2 separate regions of the Homo sapiens genome follow, and region 1 is linked to region 2. The links are contacts of gene promoters, found by promoter capture Hi-C in human tissues and cell types (Jung and others, 2019). All regions are on one chromosome and are shown on one strand. Each heading gives the region's core, a stretch centred on a gene start or on the middle of the fragment in contact. The rest is flanking DNA. Distances are from core to core; before and after follow the strand shown.

The links. The method cuts DNA at HindIII sites, captures the fragments that hold promoters and counts their contacts. A contact is called where the count stands out against the background at its distance.
Region 1: a contact is called between a fragment that was not itself captured here and the fragment with the promoter of PBOV1 in region 2, in 2 of the 25 tissues and cell types used here (H1 embryonic stem cells and aorta).

What each region holds. Positions count from the first base shown.
Region 1 is chr6:138,333,988-138,340,144 of GRCh38, reverse strand. It overlaps ARFGEF3 (ARFGEF family member 3), which reads right to left. Exons shown (of 34, transcript NM_020340.5): 33 at 4,957-6,157; 34 at 1-3,850. The coding sequence ends at 3,659. Among named protein-coding and RNA genes, the nearest start is that of SMIM28, 41 kb to the left of the region's middle. RefSeq lists enhancers at 4,560-5,161, 5,162-5,765. The HindIII fragment of the contact is 4,689 bases long and covers 1-4,650 here.
Region 2 is chr6:138,214,429-138,220,947 of GRCh38, reverse strand. It overlaps PBOV1 (prostate and breast cancer overexpressed 1), which reads left to right and starts at 2,457. Exons shown (of 1, transcript NM_021635.3): 1 at 2,457-4,962. The coding sequence starts at 2,553. The coding sequence ends at 2,960. All of the region lies in intron 4 of ARFGEF3 (ARFGEF family member 3), which reads right to left. The HindIII fragment of the contact is 10,102 bases long and covers 1-6,519 here.

The DNA of each region.
Region 1 (6,157 bases), core at 1,057-3,556, 120 kb before region 2:
AATTCTCCTGCCTCAGCTTCCCGAGTAGCTGGGATTACAGGCAGCTGCCACCATGCCCGGCTAATTTTGTATTTTTAGTAGAGACGGGGTTTCACCACGTTGGCCAGGTTGGTCTCGAACTCCTGACCTCAAGAGATCCACCCACCTTAGCCTCCCAAAGTGCTTGAGATTACAGGAATGAGCCATCACGCCTGATTTAAAGTATTTTAATGCGAGCTGTTAAGTATGTTAGCATCTGCCTGGGTTCTTATCGGTCAGTCATTACATAGACCCCAAATCATAAAGGTGTTCTAGTTTTATATCTATGGGGAAGGCTGGAAAATTACCACAAGGGGAGAGAGAGAAGGTGGTGTAAAAAGGCAGCCTAACTAACTATTTTTAAAAGCAGATCAGGAGATACAGGAGCTAGGTGAGATGCTGTGGACAGTGCATGAGGTTCAATTGTGAAAACCGATGTCCTCATTAATGACAGAGAGAACTCTGTCCCTCCATATACTTGGCTGGGCCATCATCAGTCCAGGGTCTCTTATACTTGGAGTTTTCCAGATGTTTGTTTCATGAAGCACACTTTACCAAAATTTAGGAAAAGAAGAGAAAGATCTCAACTTTAAGGTAATATACTTTTGGCTATAAATACAGGCAACTAAAAACAATGTATAAACTCTCATTCTGCTTAGGTCTGTAAATACATGCTAATAACTGTTCGTAACTTTAAAAGGCTGCCTTGAATTTTGTCTTACTGTTGCTGCAAAAGAGACTGTGAGGAGAGAAACACCTGACACTTTCAGAGACTGGGAGGGAGGGAAACAAAGTTGGGGGAGTGGGCAGCTGAGTCACAGGAACAGGGCAAGAGACTGAGCTGGGCAGCCTGGGAAGGTGCCACTCCCCTCTCAGTGTTCTTCATCTCCTCCCTTTCTTCTCCACCTGCTGGGAAGAACCACCTGAATGCCTACTCATTAGAGACTACTTTGCATCAAGCTGCAAATACCTCTGAGAAGTACTGCTGTCACTCAGTGATGGTTCTGGTTGAAATCTGATGTCAGTGTGGATGGCTGGTAACTCGAGTGCAGAGTATGTTAGGACTGAGTTATAGAGAAGACAATGGGAAGGTACCAAAACACTCTTAAAAAATTGTAGGTCAAGAGCTCTGTACACCTACTCATCCTTTTATTCTTGGGACCCATAATCAGGCTAGAACTAGAACAGTGTTTGGACACAGTACAGGGTAAACTTATGTTCAAGAATTTTGGATCCCATAATAGAGCATCGGGGAGAATGCTGATTTCCAAACAAACAACTAACATACTTTGGGATACAGTATTCACTTTTTTTTTTTTTTTTTTTTAGATGGAGTTTCACTCTTGTCACCCAGTCTGGAGTGCAATGGTGCAATCTTGGCTCACTGCAACGTCCGCCTCCTGGGTTCGAGCGATTCTCCTGTCTCGGCCTCCTAAGTAGCTGGGATTACAGGTGCATCCTACCACACCTGGCTAATTTTTGTATTTTTAGTAGAGACGAGGTTTCACCATGTTGTCCAGCCTGGTCTCAAACTCCTGACCGCAGGTTATCTGCCCACCTTGGCCTCCCAAAGTAAGTGCTGGGATTACAGGCGTGAGCCACCGTGCCCAGCTGGTATTCTCAAATTGAGACAGCTTCCTTTGAATTTTTCTACTTTATGAAAAGTTGCTATGTATAAATACTGTAATTCTAGCCTCTGCTTTACTGAAGCCTTTTCCCCCAGTAAACTGTGGAGTACTCACAGGTTCACAAAGAAGAACTGAACCTCAGGTAAGCTATAAAAAGAAACAAAGCAACTGTGGTGTTACTTCTGTTGGAAAATTTAAAAAAAGCAGTTATCCAACTTTCAATTCCATTTATAAAATGTAAAAATTCAAAAGTATACAACATAGTTCACTGATATCCCAACAATTCATTGCCTTTTAAGATCAAATAGCTGATTACCTGTTTCTAAACTTGAATTATTGTCTAGTGAGTAAAAACTGAAGGCAAACAGAGTGTTTTGTGGAACTGGGAAAAAAATGGATTCTGTGGTGATCTCTAGATGGTACACTGGATGATAAGGGTGTTTTTTTCAGATCACCTAAAGAAGTCAGAACACTGCCTTCCTCTTAACCTCTAAGGTAGTTCCATATTTCTCAAGGAGGGCAAAGTTTACAAATACCCCTTTAAATCCTTATTTCAATACTGTAGAATTTGTGTCTTATATTTAAAGGGTGACTTATTCATTATGAATGGGGCTGGGAGATTATAATGTATGCCTTAAATAACTCTGTAGAATGTGTGTAAGTAAGCTTGATTGAGGAGTTTTCAATCATTAGGATAATGTAAGAAATATAAAAATACTGTAAATAATAAGATAAAGCTTTCAAACGTATTTTCTAGTAATACTTAGAAATATCCACCTGAAATATTGGTCTGAATGCAAAGACATCAAACATAGGGTAACTTTACTTGGTAGATAGGAGAAATATTTTAAATCGACAAAATTTTCTAAATTTCAGTGTCTTTCTCCATTACTTTCATTTTGAGACTAGAGCTTGTGTAACTGACACCATAATTTTGCAAGATTGTTGTATTATATTTTAAGATTGAAAATGATTTCATCATAATCCATCCCCACCCCACACTCCCTGCTCCCTTCCCTGAGTCCCTTTCCTCCAAGCGTGTTGATATAAAATGAGTTGCGTCTTAATGTTTTGTTTTCTTAAAAACCAAATGCTATACCTTATGTTCAGACAATTGTGGGGCATGGAAATGGAAGTGCAACAAAGGACTAAGGCACCTTTTCTTCTTTCCTTTCCTTTCCTTGTTTGCCTTGGGGATGGAAACAAACACCACAAGAACAGCCAGGGTGGCTGGTCGGTCTTATGTCTCTTGACAATCTACGTACCAGCCACTTTCACTGGGTACTCTGTGTCACAGGCTGATAAGCCACAGACTTCAAACCCTGCTAGGAAAGAACTTTCTTCTTTTAGAAATACAGAAATAAAGGTACAACACAGTACCTTACATGGGGAAATTGGTGAATACCTGAAAATCTTAATGATTTAGGAATAATTTTGAAGTGTTCTGGATTATTTTACAACAGAAGTCACCTCTTTCTTGATTATGACACCCAAGAATATGTATTTATAGTTGTCTTCTTCCCAGCCAGACCCATAACCATAAATCTTCCTCCAATTAATAATCCCTGGTACTAGATGTCTGAGTGTTTATCAGCTTGACTTACCAGCAGATATTGCCTTAGGAATTGTATTTATTTTTTAAATGATGGATCAAATGGATCAATATAGTGTTTTCAAATGAGTAATCCTTGAAAATGACCCATTTGGGGACAACACTGTAAGCAAAAGCACTGGGAAATATACTTCAAGAGTTAGAAACATATCAAGGATTATAGATTCTTCTATAATAATGTGCAAAATCAGAATATCGTTTGTGTCATCTAGATACAAACCTTAGTATGGCCCCAATGCTGATCAGTGGTTGGAAAGGCTTTTTACATTAGGAAACACTGTTCTCTGAGACAGTAGTAGTAGTTTAAGTGGGGCTAGTGGTGGGGAAAATGCAACAGCTGTATTGGCAGGACTCTAACCCTCACTACTGTTATTTGGTGGGAGAGTAGAACAGGAGTCGGCTACACAATGATGTCATAGACACGGCCCACCCTGCCCAGCCACTCCCTCACAGCCTGGCGAACTCTGATGTCGGTCACGTGACAGGTCAGCTGACTGATGCACGGGAACACTGCGGGCTGGAGGGCCGTGAAGGTCTGGTCTGGGAGAATCTGAATCTGATTGAGAACTGTTAGCACCATGTTGGTCCATGCCTAAGAGAAAAGATTTAAGAAAATCAGTGGCTTTCCCCCCTGGTTTTATTTGAACACTTGAGAGTGGCCCTGCCAATGTGGAAATGGTTTTTTTCCAGGCTTTAGTTGCAATAAATTAGTTTTCACTCATTTAATATGCCTATAATAAATTGTAGGCGTATTAATTTATTATGCCTACATCATAACTTCACATACATAAAGATGGGCAGAGACTCGCCTTATTTTCAGCTTTCACAAACTACTAAACTCTTACTTATTCCTTAGATTTAAAAACAACAACAACAACAAACCTCCCTTGCCTTCTCACAGTGAGATCTCCACAGGCCGTTAATCTCAAACTCATTTTTTGATGCACCATAGAATTACACTCAAAGCCTCCCTGAAGAATGAGAATTTTTATGTGCACAGGATGGGCTAGAAAAACTTGAGATGAAAACAATTTGAAAAAAATTCATTGGCATAACCACACAATATTTACTTTGCTTTTTTCTTTTATATAATGCTTCATAACTACAGAATTTCTTCAGGGCCATTTTCGAATGACACACTAAGAACTCAATGCTAGTCAAAGCTTACTTGTTTTTAAAGACAGGGTCTCTCTATGTCATCCAAGCTGGAGTGCAGTGGCACCATCTCAGCTCACTGCAACCTCTGCCTCCTGGGATCACACAATCCTCCTTGCTCAGCCTCCCAAGTAGCTGGGATTACAGGCATGTGCCACCTCTCCCAGCTAATTTTTTTTTTTTTTTTGTAGAGATGATGGGTTTTGCCGTGTTGTCCAGACTGAAAAAGCTTACATGTTATAAGCTTTAGCCTCACCTTATTTATACAGGTAAGTTCCTAATTCTCAATAATATACATTACTATGGAGAAAAACAGTTCCTGAAATTACCTGAGAGTAAAATTCCAGCTTCATAATGACATACTGATCCTGGGAGATCCTGCACTTAGGTTCAGGCAGTCCTCTGACTTTGGAGGGAAATCGGTTCATACCCCCTACCTGTTTCTATAAATCTTAGCCTGTGTATGCCTGCTCTGCAAGGGGGGGCCCATCCAGTACTGGAAACCCAGCCTCCCGCCCACCTGCTGTGGCCACAGGGATGTACCTGGATCTGTGCTTCTGCGTCTCTCACCGAGACACTGAGGGAGCTCCCGGTGGAGCCTGAGCGGGGCCTCTTGTCCTGTCGCAGCAGCTCGGGGCCTGCGCTGAAGGAATGCCGCATTTGCCCTTGGTCCATCAAGTGCTGGGGACGCTGAAGCAGCGGGGAGTCCTGGCCCCTGGGACCCAGTGGCTCTCCTTTCTTCTCCACTTTGACCTCTTTGGGGAACGCGGACAGGTTGTGCTGCTGTTTCCTCTTTTTGTATTCGGTCATCAACTTTGAAATGGTCTTGTCGGCTGCCATGGTGTAGATTTTGTTCCCCGCATTCTCCCACCACTCCTTCTTCCGGCTGGGATCCTTCTTCTCCACTTTGGGGCTGGGGGGCAGCAGCAGGTCCCCACCACCGGCCTTCAGGCTCAGGGACTCGCCCATGTGCTCCCGGGACTGGCTTCTGTCATCCTCGGAAGGGGTTTCTTTCCCAGAGAAGCCCCCGGTGGATGGGGTGGATGACTCGGACTGGAAGGAGGGCAGGATGAAGAACGGGTCGCCCTTGAAGATGGGAGGCTCCTCCATACAGTTCTCCAGGTCCAAGTGCATCTGGATGTAGTTGTTGCACAGTTCCATGCACAGCTTGTGCAGCCTCTTGACCAGCCACACCCAATCTGCGTTGCTGACAGGCTGGACGCTGAGCAAGGGCATCCGTGCCCGCCACTGTCTCTTCTCCTTGCCTCTCGGGGGGCTGACCTGGGCGGTTTCCTCAAAGATGTCTTCATCCTCAGATGAACACTGCTGGGAAGAATCCGTGCTTCTCTCGTCGTCCTCAAAAAGGACCTTCTTCACTTGCTCGGCCGTGATGGTTTCTTGATTGGTGAGAACAGCACACACCAGGGCGTGGAAATAAATGTTAAAGCTCATCGCAGACTGGCGGTAGAGGTTGGCGGCGCCCCCGATGCCAGACACTTTCTTCAGCAGGCACTTCAGCCCGGGGCTGGTGTCAAACTCCCTGGCAGTCCTATAAGAGTCCAGCAGCAGGTCGAATATGACTGCCAAGTTCTGCATAGAGATGTATCTGAGGAAGCCAGCCAGCTTGGCTTCTGGCACTTGTATCGTCTTTTCCTCTCCAGGAGAGGGGCCTTTGACAAACTCTTCTAACAAGATGTCATATAAGTTCTGGAGTAACACCTGATGAGACAGCAGGCTCACCACA
Region 2 (6,519 bases), core at 1,208-3,707:
TAGTCTCAACCATATTTATTTTAGAATATGAACTTGCTTTACTATTTCAAGTGAATTCTAGGAGATTCAGCTGTGTTTATATGGCAAGGCAATTTAGTTGGTCAAGATGAGATCTACTAATTCCAACCCTTATGGAGAACAAACTGGATTGGTCAGTTACGTGTTGATTACTGCTGGATGATAATATGTGATTAAGATGGGAAAAAGAAATTACTGTGGAAGGGCTGAGTCGATGTCCTTCTAGCAAGTATATTAGACATGAAGACCAGCAAGTGTATTAGAACTTGCACCCAAAGGTTGAGTGGAAAAGACTTATTTTTTTGTTCCATTGTACAAGTAGTTCATGTTTTAGAAATAGACTCTAGCCTAAAATTTCAGTAGAATGCAGGATGCATTTTCTCATAGAAGTAAAGATATAAATTACAGATAGTTGCTTAGGGCAGCCTACAGATTTCTCTTTCATCCAGAACATACAGGAAGTATTCTGTATTGGCAATAAATACAATGGAAATAATAGAAAAATAAAAATAAAAAATTCTTAATTATGCTAACATTAAAACTGTACTTAAAGGACTACATATATATAGATATATAGAGAGAACCATGTGGAAAATGCTTATGATTTAAAGTATAAAGCAAGAAATAGGTTGGCTGCAGTGGCTCACACCTATAATCCTAGCACTTCGGGAGGCCAAGGCAGATAGATTGTTTGAACACAGGAGTTCGAGACCAGCCTGGGAAACATGGCAAAACCTTGTCTCTACAAAAGAAATACAAAAATTGGTTGAGCATAGTGGCGCACCCAGTAGGCTGAGGTTGGAGGATCACCTGAGACCTGGAGGTCAAGGCTGCAGTGAGCTGTGATTGCGTGATTGCATCACTGAGCTCTAGCCTGGGTGACAGTGAAACCCTGCAGAAAAAAAGAAAGGAAAAGGAAAAGAAAAGAGAAGATAAAAGAAAAAAAATCCTATACACACAATGAATATAACTATAAACACATAAGTAGATATGATGAGAAATCAGTATACAAGAATCAGTCAACATGATGGGATTTACAATTAACTTTTTCTCTTTTGGAATGCCCATAATGTTAAACTACTAGCACTTCTTTAAATTCATCTTTTAAAATATTCTACACACACACACACACACACGCACATCTATGTCAAAATTTAAATATAAATATTGAGACCTGATAATATGAACTCAGTCTCTATCTCTTAAATTAGTCCCGTAAGACCATCACTCAACCAGAAACTCTGGCTGTGAGTCCTGCAGGCAACTTGGGCTTTCCCTCTCCTACCTACTCACTGCCCATGTCACTGCCAGTCACCAGCTGCTCCTTATTCTGCAAACCAGGTCAGTGCACTCAGCCACACCTTTCTGCATTCAGCCCAGGTGGCCCCTTCCTACTGCCACCTACCTGGATTAAGTCCTGGTACCTCTGGCTCAGCCTCTTCCAATAAGATATTTCACGATGCCAAAGACTTGGTTCTGCTGATTCCTGAATCATCCTGCAAACCCATCCTCCCCCTCCTCACCTTCCATGTTTAACACCCAGCTCTGTCTGGATCACTTGCCTGCTTACAGAGAGCAGGCCCTCTAGAGCCTCTTCAACCACCCTTTCAGGCTCATCGTCCACTATCCCTCACTAATCTCAGTTTCCATCCCCAGGACTTTTTTTCTCTACCAAGAATGCCCTCTCTCCCAACATAATTATCTGAATCCCACCTACCTTTCAAAGTCCAACTCAAATAGTATCCCCTCCTTAAAAGGATGTTCTGCCCTGCTAAACATGCTTCTTCCTCCTGAATGTGCCTCCTGAACTCTTCTCCTGATTAAACATACACAGCTACCTTGAATTGTGGTAATTGGCTGCCTCTTTATTGCTTTCCTACTGAATTATAAACCCTTGCCTTTGAATATTTTGTTTTTAATCCTATATAGTTTTATGCACTGTTGGCAACAAAAATATATTTCCTTAATAAATCAATAAAAAAAGGTCTAAAAAAGCAACAAATTTAAAAGTTCCACGACTTATTTTTTCAAGTTTAATCTGTAACAAGCAGATTTTGACTTAATCTCACAGCTGGGTTTTTAAGAAGTCAAATTTCATTGGTATGCCCCAGATAACACCCTCACTCCTTCCTTTTCTCTTTCCCTCTCAGACTCTCTGCAGAATGAGAGCCTCATCTCAAATTGTCTCTGCCCATACAAACACAGAACTTTTGATAGTTTTATTGTTTATACTTATAGACCTGACCAAGCAAGCTCCTCAAGATAGGGTTGTTAAAGGGCTACAGCCAACCTGATTCTCTACATCTGAAACAATAATTACAGAGCTCTTCTGGAATAATCAAATCATAAAACTCTACCTCGTAGGATGGAACAGAAACATTGGCTCAGCTAAAGAGTGGGTGTTTTCCTTAGATTGTGGAATCATGGCTGATGGTTAGGACCTTAAATATATCGAGGTGGCTAATTGATGTATAATAATTTACAAAATTATTCTTCTATGCTACAGAGCTACAATTCAATTTACAGTAGTAAATATGAGGGCCTTCTTAAGGAACCAGAAATATGAGGATATGCACAATATTATTCACATTTTACAGATCAGAAAATTGAGGCACAGATTAAGTAACTTCCCAAGGCTACCAGGCATTCTAGCTCCAGAAACTGTGCTCTTACCATTCTGCTACAAGGTATTTCGAAAAAAAGAAAAAGTAAAAAGAAGTCAAAAGGCAACAGAGTTCATTGATTATTCCATAGAACAGTCACACCATGCAATTCTCACACCCTTGCAGACACACTTGACCATGAAAGGTTCCTCAATGAAATGTTCCTCATTATCTTCAGAAGCCATATTATTCACATTGACTTTGCAGTTAACTCAGACCCTAGGTCTGGAATGCTGTCTTCTCTACTTATCCAAAACTATACATCCACAGATCATATAAACTCTCAGCCCTGCTGCAAAGCCTTTCCAGAAAAATAAAAATGGTTGAAAAGGCAATTCTGCTACCAATGACTGTTTAAGCCCAGCCAAGTAACTGAACCATTCCAACTTCAATTTACTTATGAAAAGAATTTGATGATGTAGGAGGTTATTTCAATTCTAAAATACAAACCCATGTTGATCTTTCTCAATCTTGAACTCATAGATTATTATCTATTATCTCAATTTAGTTTGTTATTTATCCTAGTGGGCCATTAAAAACTACCACATGTGTTTCTGTCTCTCCATTAGTCAATAACTAAACTAACGAGCAATTAGTAAGCCATGTGCCAGATGCTCCGCTAGGCACCAGAGGGATAAAAACAATACTTATAGTATACCACTAATTTTCGCTTAGTAACTAGTGAAATGTTCAAGTCATGCCTGAGTCAAGAGTTGAGGAGACATTACAATGTGTAATGGAAACCAAGGAAAGTGAAACTTTGGATAAGTGGGGACTAGTGTATTTATATATTTAATTGATTTCTGACTCTATCATTGGCCTCCAAACACAGATTGTGTTTTTCTTTGGTTTTGTTTTCTTCACTATGGGATCTTCTGTGCCCAGCACAGTGCCTGACACATAGAAAACAATCAAATATTTGCTGAATAAATGATTAAAAAATCAGAGAACTTTCCCATTCTGTTTGGATCTATAGAACATCCAGAGTAAGTGATGAGGGCCTCTGCATTTATATGCGCTTAAATTAAGATTATGTGAGAAAAGTTTAAAGACACTTAGTAGAGTGATTTTGAAATATAGTAAACACTTGGAAATGGTGGTGCTTTAAAAAGATATTAATAGATAATATGAAAATCTCCATCTCAAAAATAATGCATAAACTATTTAAAGGAAAATCACATCTCCAGGCTTTCAATGTTTGTTCATTACTTTTTCATATATTTTTACCATCTGCTGAAGGCAGTCATATCAAAGGGTAAAGAAAGATGGGAGGAAAACTCAGTAAGAATTATATTAGTCTGTTTGCAAAGTAGAAAAAGATTCTCATCACTCAACCTTATGAGCAGGAAGAGGGAAGGCTGTTTGAGAACCATTTACTTAGCAGAACCACATATTTTAGACACTTCCCTGCATTAACTGCACAAACAATATGTTTGCAAACTTGTTAGATCAACCTCCAACAACGACACATTCAGGAGTTAAATATTTTTCATCAAACATTGGATTTTTCCTTAACGCTAGAGATTGCTACAAATCTTCTGAAGGGTCTCAATGGCTTCAGGCTAAGAAGAGATTTCTCCCTGTTATAAGCAGCAAGACAAATTAGCCATTTCACTCTCAAACTTCACTAATGATCACATTCTTTCCAAAAGGAACTCTAGAAGACCAAATGCCCCGAGTTAAGAACATCAAAACTAACCATCTGAAGAAACTTCCCAAGTGTAAGACTCTGCCATTAAAACATTACCGAGAGGGGACTCAAACAGTCTTTCTTCCTTTGTCGTGTTTCTTGCTCCCAGACCAAGGCACTGACGACAGTACTGATACATAATTTAAAAGCACACTCCCTTCCACTTTGTAATACCAGAACTCTAATTGGACACCCTGAAGCTTAGGACTACCAGCCATACAAATAGTAAACTCTGTCCACGATTCACTCATCTGTGTATTTTCTATAGATGTTTACTAGGCGTTTGTTATATAAAAATACCCCGGCCAGGCACGGTGGCTCACGCCTGTAATCCCAGCACTTTGGGAGGTGGGTGGATCACCTGAGGTCGGGAGTTCGAGACCAGCCTGACCAGCATGGTGGAACCCCCATCTCTACTAAAAACACAAAAAATTAGCCGGGCGTGGTGGCACATGCCTGTAATCCCAGCTACTCAGGAGGCTGAGGCGGAGAATTGCTTGAACCCGGAAGGTGGAGGTTGCGGTGAGCTGAGATTGCACTATTGCACTCCAGCCTGGGCAACAGGAGTAAAACTCCCCCCCACCCAAAAAAAAAAACAACAACAACAAAAAACCAAAAAACCAAAAAACCAATGGTAAATTACACTCTTTCCCTTTCCCCAACACTCTCTCTCTCTCTCTCTCTCTTTCACACACACACACACACACACACACACACACACACACACACACACACCAGACCGATTAGCTAACTTAGTGGAAAAGACACTTAGATTCCTTCTTCATATGTGAATTTAGCTCACAGGACTAGTGAGGGAATATCATTATCACGGGAAGACACAGAAACCACACAGGACTCTGAGCCACTCCTAGTTTTACCCCTCCTTAGCCTGTGACTTGGCTTTTCTGCTCCATCATCTACACAAGAAGAATAGCAGTGACTAGCACCCACAAGCCTCTCAGGATAGACTTGGCAGGCAAGGTAACCCACCACTTAAGAGCACAGGTTTAACTCCAGGCTGAATACTGCCCTGGTCATTTCACTAGCTGTGTGACCTTAGTATCAATATGTCTGGTGCATAAAAAATGTTAAATGATAAGCCCCTGTCATTTCTCCTTTAAAAATTGCAAAGCACTCTACGAATATTCACTTCTATTATCTAAAAATGCACATAAAAAAGACACCCAGTAATAGAATATTCATCAAATGCTCTCTCAGTGTCCAGCATCATCTCCTTCCTTATCGCCAAAGCCAGCCTGCCCTCCCCAGATAGGATGCCCACATCTCCCACATGCTTACAGAGGCGAACAGCCAGCCATAATTCCATTCGGCAGCCTTTGAAGACTCAGCCAGCTGTATCAGTTAATAACCTCACTAAAGGTTATCCATCAGAAAGAAGGGAAACAAGTCCTAACTACTCTCGTCAGAGAAGTCATTAGATCCGTACATGGCTCCTATACAATCTGCCTGGCATTTATGGAAATAGCACACACCATAGGAAAATGTTGCCAAAGCAGACAAGTATTTAACCTAAATATTCAATAGTCTACTAATCCATTTCCAAGGTAATCTATCTTCAGAGCCTCTTTCTGATTCTGTACAGTTCTGACCATTTATTGTTTGCTCAAGCTGTAAAACTTTTCTTTGGGTTCCATAGCCATTTCAATAAATCAAACTTGCCTTTTCTCCCCTTCCTGTTAAATAGTAAAACCATGTAGAATAGTTCCTAGACTAAGTGATTTAACCTCATTCCTATTTGTCAGAAGCAGGCTTCACTGATTTTTTTTAACCCTCTGATTGAAAGTCTTCTTTCTAAATGAGAATACTATCCTTGGAATATTGGATTTCATTATTGGCCCGTTTCTGTTTAATCTTGGAGAAATCTCTACAAAAAGGAAACTATATTATTTTCTTTCCAGAAATTTAATACAATTGTTCCATACACTTTAGAGTGTGACATGGTTCAATCTTCCATGTTTATAAGCACTAACAGATACCAATATGTGAATAAAACGCATGATCTAACTTCTAAAAAATAACACCTAGGATCCGTTATAACAACGTGCTATGCTGTGGTCGGACAGACAAATAAAAACTGCATGGTGTGGCCTTATCCCTCCTGAATAGCATATCCAGACCAACATTTGA